Linked DNA regions of Homo sapiens: region 1 is linked to region 2. Evidence: promoter capture Hi-C in 16 types of primary human blood cells and fetal thymus (Javierre and others, 2016). All regions are on one chromosome and are shown on one strand. Each heading gives the region's core, a stretch centred on a gene start or on the middle of the fragment in contact. The rest is flanking DNA. Distances are from core to core; before and after follow the strand shown. Region 1 overlaps ABL2 (ABL proto-oncogene 2, non-receptor tyrosine kinase). Region 2 holds the start of AXDND1 (axonemal dynein light chain domain containing 1).

Region 1 (3,126 bases), core at 397-2,896, 260 kb after region 2:
TGATTCTTACCATTGCTGCTCCAAAGGAGGCCCAGGTTAAGAGGATTAGAGGAGACACGCGGTGCTGGGCATTCCTGGCAGGTGTTGGGTGATCCCCGCAGTATGTCACCTGCAGTTGCAGCACAGGCAGCTAGTGATTGGGTTCATCTCCTCCTAGTGGTTGGAAGAGAACTCAGATGTAAAAACCAGCGGTCCTTCTCCCACCTTCTTTCCTGCCATTCTTGCTCATCATACATGTCCGTAAACTTGAAGAACTCGTTTTAGCAGCTAGCCTTTTAAGGTCGAGGATGGGAAAGCTAAAACTGTAGAATATTATTATGCTGCTTTTTAGGTTTATCCCTGTTGTTGTGGGATGCAAGTTAAGGGATTGTAATTGTTTTTCAGGGTTTTTTTGTTTTTTGTTTTTTAAGCAAGGGCTCTATTTTCCCTTGAGAGTTCTGGAACTAAGCCTTGGAGAAACACTACTGAGTGTATTTAGGCTCCCTGGTTTTCTTGCCCAACAACAATCTGAAGGGTAGGGGGTGGGGGCTGTGTCTTACTCAGGGGCAGCACCTAGCTGTCTTGCCTACAGTGGGTGCACGATATATAAATGGAATTGATTTTTGTCAACACTGTCAAGAGTGGCATTGACTATTGGAGCATACCCCGTCCACATGATGCTTGAACTATGTAACTTCAGGGGTTGAGGGCTCAAGGTTCAGGTTAAAGAGGCACTGTCAACTTACTATACAAGCATAATTTAGGTTTTTCCTTTTTCTACTTGAAAAGGACCAGCTTAAACACAAACCCTTATGTAAATTAAAAGGTTTGAATCCAAAGCAGAGAGAACTGCTTCTGGAAAAGTGTAGTTTAATTTTAACTATTCTAAAAGCAATGAGCAAAGGCCCTTGTCCAAGGCGTTGACAGTTTTCTAAAGTGGTTATGCTGTATATCTGGATGCATGCCTTTGGGCTGCCACTGCTTGATTCCTTTCATGTACAGATAATATTACTTCAGTTTAGATTTCCCACTTTAAAATGCAGTGATTTGTGTTGAATACATCTTGATTGTGCTTTACCTAAAGTATTTTCTTAAAAGGCTTTGTGTAAAATTTAAATGTATATATTTTCCTGTAGACTTCCATCATGATTTTCAGAGATTAGCCTTAAAAAATTTGGCCCTAAGAAATTCATTCAGTGTTTTTCTAGATGACCTCTGTACATAGAGGTCATTATAGTGGAGACCCTTTACCAGCAGCATTTTAAGATTTAAATTAGATAGAAAGTTTCTTAGGATTCAACTGAAAATTGGCTAGTAAAATATGTCCCAGGTAATAAAGCATGCTGACTTTGCTAAGGCACTGCCCATTTTTATTTAACTAAAGTCATGGAGATTTTGAGTTTAAAGGATGCAGTATAGATAGTGGTTTAGTGTTTAGGCTCTAATGCCAGTCTAAAAGGCAAGTCATTTAACCTTGGGAGCCTCAGTTTCCTCACTGTAAAACAGGGATAATAATAGTAACTACCTCAGGGTTGTTGTAAGGATTAAATGAGATGATATTTGTAAGATACTTAGCTCAAGTGCCTGGCACACAATGAGCACACTCTATAAATGTTCTACTACTACTATTATTAACACCTAGTCTAGGGATGCACAGCAGAATCCCCTAGGGTTAAAAAACAAAACAAAACAAACAAAAAAAACTGACGGAATAGCCCCACTCCAGATCAGAATTCCCAGTGGGCTGGGGTCTCGGCCAGTGTATTCTCCAGTAATCTCGCCAGGTGTTTGAAACACCCAGTGCTATCTGAAAACTATCAGTACCCCAACCCTTTGGTTTATAGATTAAGAAACTAGCAGAAGATGGTTAAATTACTTGCCTATTGTCTCAGAACGGTTAATTAGTGGCGGAGCCAAGGCTAGAATTCAAGTCTCTTGACTTTATGGTTGTGGGGTCTTTCCACCATACCTGCTGCCATGTGAGACACTGCAAAAAAGTGGCTCAGACCGACAATCAGCCTGTGTGGTGCTGCACACTTTCTAAAGCACATGCTCCTGACACTTTGACCTTAAGGGGCTTGAATGTGGAGTAATGGGAACACAAGCCAAGCAAGCACTCAGTAGAATTCAGTCATTTAAAAAATTCAATGGGGTCATTCTTTTGGACAGACCTCAGCAACACAGCAATGTGCACTTTGTAGTAAAGAAATACCAACTTGAGTTTTTAAAAAACCTAGTTAGTCCTACATTCCCTTTTCTTTAAAAAAACTTTATTGTTCACATTATTTTAATGACTATGAGATAATGTATATGACAGCACTTTGAGAAAATATCAACTGTAATATAACTATAAGGTTGTAGTATTGTCTGTTTAAAAGATAAGACAGTTGATTCAATGTGGATGGACCCTGTGGGGTACCTGAAAATGTAGATACGTAAGAATCACCTCTGTCATTTATCACATTTAGAAATATGAAACTGCTTAACAGGTATGAGCAGGTATAGCAAGTGTTTGCTAAAGTTGTAGTTCAGAGCTGAATTACTTCAGGAAACTAGGGACCAACTTTTTGGTTTAATTCCGATCTTTAAAAAGTAAGAATGTGTACTCACTCCAGAACACAGAAGCTCTTCCAAGGACCTTGACTCAAGAAGGATGAGGTCCTCTTACTCTTCTCCATTTATCCACTATATGCTTGGCCATTTATCCTAAATGTGGTGGGAACAGACTTGTTATCTGTTGATGTTGACAGTGTCTTTTTTAACCTATGTCCTGCATAGTTTTGTTAGGTTTACAGGGGGAGGTGGATGGCCATAAAACCAGTGCACTTTGGGAATTACTTTTCTAGGATTTCCTACCAGTTATAAATGACATTGACATTTGTCATCTTTTTTTTCTTTTTCTAAAAAGAATAGCTGAATTTAATTCACCTATTATAAAATACTCAAAAGTAAATTGCCTTGGTGGCCACTTCTGAATTATAGCTACATTTCATTATGACCCCTTCTGCTCCCTTCCATTTTGCTACTGATGTCATTCTTGTTATCAGGCTGTGCCCCTACCAGGAGTTCATATTGGGTTGACAGGGTTATCTATATTTTTGTTCTTGATTTTTGAGTTTCATCATCTTGCATTAAATTGTTCCACCT
Region 2 (3,069 bases), core at 350-2,849:
AGACCGGGTTTCACCACGTTGGTCAGGCTGGTCTCAAACTCCTGACCTCGTGATTTGAGACGGAGTCTCGTTCTGTCGCCAGGCTGGAGTGCAGTGGCGCAATCTCGGCTCACTGCAACCTCCACCTCCCGGGTTCAAGCGATTCTCCTGCCTCAGCCTCCTGAGTAGCTGGGACTACAGGCACGAGCCACCACGCCCCCCCTAATTTTTGTATTTTTAGTAGACAGAGTTTCTCCATGTTGGCCAGAATGGTCTCAATCTCTTGACCTCGTGATCCGCCAGCCTCAGCCTCCCAAATGGGATTACAGGTGTGAGCCACTGTGCCCGGCCTATTTATTTATTTATTTTGAGATGGGGTCTTGCTCTTGTCTCCCAGACTGGAATGCAATGGCTCGATCCTGGCTCACTGCAACCTCACCTCCTGGGTTCAAGCGATTCTCTTGCCTCAGCCTCCAGAGTAAGCTGGGACTACAGGCGCGAGCCACCATGCCCGGCTAATTTTTGTATTTCTAGTAGAGACGGGATTTCATCATATTTGGCCAGGCTGGTCTCGAACTCCTGACCTCAAGTGATCCGCCCACCTCGGCCTCCCAAAGTGCTGGGATTACAGGCGTGAGCCACCGCGCCCTGCCTCACTATTACTTTTTCCAAAGTTCCTTAAAGCCAAAGACCAGGAACCAAAAAATACGTAACTATTGATATTTAAAATAGGTTGAATTTAAAATCATATATAAATCAACATTTGAAAAAAAGTATAAACTGTATTTAGATGGAGTAGTGAAACAGTACTCTGACTCAAAATACTGTAAAAGGAATGACTTCTTGCTTTATTTAAGCAAGTGTGTTAGAAAAATGTAGCCAATCAAGGTATTCTGAATATCAGATTTAAAAAACCGGTGAATGGAAGGTGATTTCTGTCTTACGGCCATGACTGTTTATGACTTCAGAATCAACGAAGTTTACCTCTTGTCCCTTCCTTGGCTACAGACACTTTTAACTTTTTGCTCTCAGATGTTGATGTAGAGTTTAGCGGGGTGGAGGGCGTTTTCGGGAGAGACATAATAAACAATGCCTCCTATCTCTTTAGTAATTTGAAATAGTCCTCCGGAAAGCTAATTTAGACACAAATCAGCGCCGCACTGGGACTTGCAGGCTGCCACATAGTCCTGCAGGCAGAGGAAAAAAGATTTAAAAAAAAAAAAAAAGATGACAACTATTGAGTACTTAGGTTCAGATCGCAGTTTAGAATTCATCTAGCATGGTTCTCCTTCTTCGGGGCGACCTCTATGTTCTGGGGTTATGTGTAGCGACTAAGAAGCCTTAGTGGACCGTCAGGTCGGGGTCAAGGAGCAGGGCAGGAAGGACCCGCTCGGCGGACCCCGCAGACCGCCGGCACCCCTGGTGGGGGACACTCGCTGCAGGCGGCTCGGCTGGGGACCATACCTTCCCCACAGGCAGCGCTCTCGCGCGCCAGTTCCACAAACTCGCGAGTTGGGCAGGCCTCGCACTGCTTCTTGGTTTAAAATGACGGGAAAGGGACACCCGCGATCCTACCCACACATTGCGTACCCGCCCAGCATCCGCTCACTTCCTCCTTTGCTGGAACGCCTGTTTGTCGTCATAGAAACCCAGGGCCCCGAGGTTTAGCGCCCTCCATAGGGGCTGCCTTCAGCGGTGCCGGCGGAGGAGGGAGACAGCTAAGACAATCCCTACACCCTCTTGGAGTTTCTTATGTTCTAAGTCACAGCATAGGTTCAGTAGCAAAGGAGAAGAAAAACGTTTAATCCCGCCGTTGTCACGGAATCCGAAAGTGTCTCACGCCGGGGCTTCCTGCCGCGGGCCAGGCCAGTGCGCAGGCGCCGGTGGGGGTTAGCTCGAGGGGCCGACCCCTGTAGCCCGTGACGCACGCGGGTTAAGCAAGGGTCTTCTGAGTTGTTTCCATCTTTCTAGCTCTCTTTTTTGTTGCTTTGCATATTTTTCTTTCTCTTTCTTCCTCTTTTTCTTTCTTTCTCTTTTTTTCCCCTGAGACGGAATTTCCCTCTTGTCGCCCAGGCTGGAGTTTAATGGTGCGATCTCGGCTCACTGCAACCTCCACCTCCTGGGTTCAAGCAATTCTCCTGCCTCAGCCTCCCAAGCAGCTGGGACTACAGGCAGACGCCACCATGCCCGGCTAATTTTGTAGTTTGTTTTTTGTTTTGTTTTGTTTGAGACGGAGTCTCGTTCTGTCGCGCTGGCTGGAGTGCAATGGTGCGATCTCAGCTCACTGCCACCTCCGCCTCCCAGGTTCAAGCGATTCTCCTGCCTCAGCCTCCCGAGGGACTACAGGCGGGGGCCACCATGCCCGGCTAATTTTTGTATTTTTAGTAGAGACGGGGTTTCACCATATTGGCCAGGCTGGTCTCAAACTCCTGACCGCGCCCGCCTCGGCCTTCCAAAGTGCTGGGATCATAGGCGTGAGCCACTGCGCCCGGACGCTTTGCATATTTTTCTAAAAGCCAGACTCAGGGGGATGTTGGGTAATAAGAAACGCTGGGTCCCTTATTGGGTAAGCCGTCCAGTGCTTTACATTTCGGTCACGTCTTCCTTGGACCCTTAAATGCCTCCCCCCAGAGCACAAGGAAGGCCTCCTGGGCCCAGATTTTTCACCCCCTTGGGGCAGGGAAGGAGGATTGAGCTTAGGTGGAACCAGCTCAGGTATAATTGTCGGGGCTTCTGGCGTGAAAATCTGCCCTCAGGAAAGAATACCATCAGCGGCCGGTGGCTCACGCCTGTAATCCCAGCACTTTCTTAGGCCGAGGCGGGTGGATCACGAGGTCAGGAGTTCGAGACCAGCCTGACCAACATGGTGAAACCCCGTCTCTACTAAAAACACAAAAATTAGCCAAGAGAGGTGGCGCGCGCCTGTAATCCCAGCTACTCAGGAGGTTGAAGCAGGAGATTCGCTTGAACCGGGGAGGAAAGGGTTGCGGTGAGCCGAGATGGCGCCACCGCACTCCAGCCTGGGCAACAGAACGAGACTCCGTCTCAAAAAAAAAAAGAGTATCATCAGAGCCTTCGCACTGAACTGAG

The links. Contacts are between HindIII fragments. The CHiCAGO score rates a contact against its expected background, and 5 or more counts as called.
Region 1: a fragment that was not itself captured here is called in contact with the fragment with the promoter of AXDND1 in region 2 in 9 of 17 cell types (naive CD4 T cells, activated CD4 T cells, total CD8 T cells and 6 more); the score reaches 11.7 in naive CD4 T cells.

Annotation. Positions count from the first base shown.
Region 1 is chr1:179,102,594-179,105,719 of GRCh38, reverse strand. ABL2 (ABL proto-oncogene 2, non-receptor tyrosine kinase) reads left to right here. Exons shown (of 12, transcript NM_007314.4): 12 at 1-3,126. Among named protein-coding and RNA genes, the nearest start is that of TOR3A, 22 kb to the right of the region's middle. The HindIII fragment of the contact is 4,193 bases long and covers 1-3,126 here.
Region 2 is chr1:179,364,501-179,367,569 of GRCh38, reverse strand. It overlaps AXDND1 (axonemal dynein light chain domain containing 1), which reads right to left and starts at 1,599. Exons shown (of 26, transcript NM_144696.6): 1 at 1,570-1,599; 2 at 964-1,166. The coding sequence starts at 1,060. RefSeq lists enhancers at 1,199-1,268, 1,649-2,048. The HindIII fragment of the contact is 9,843 bases long and covers 1-3,069 here.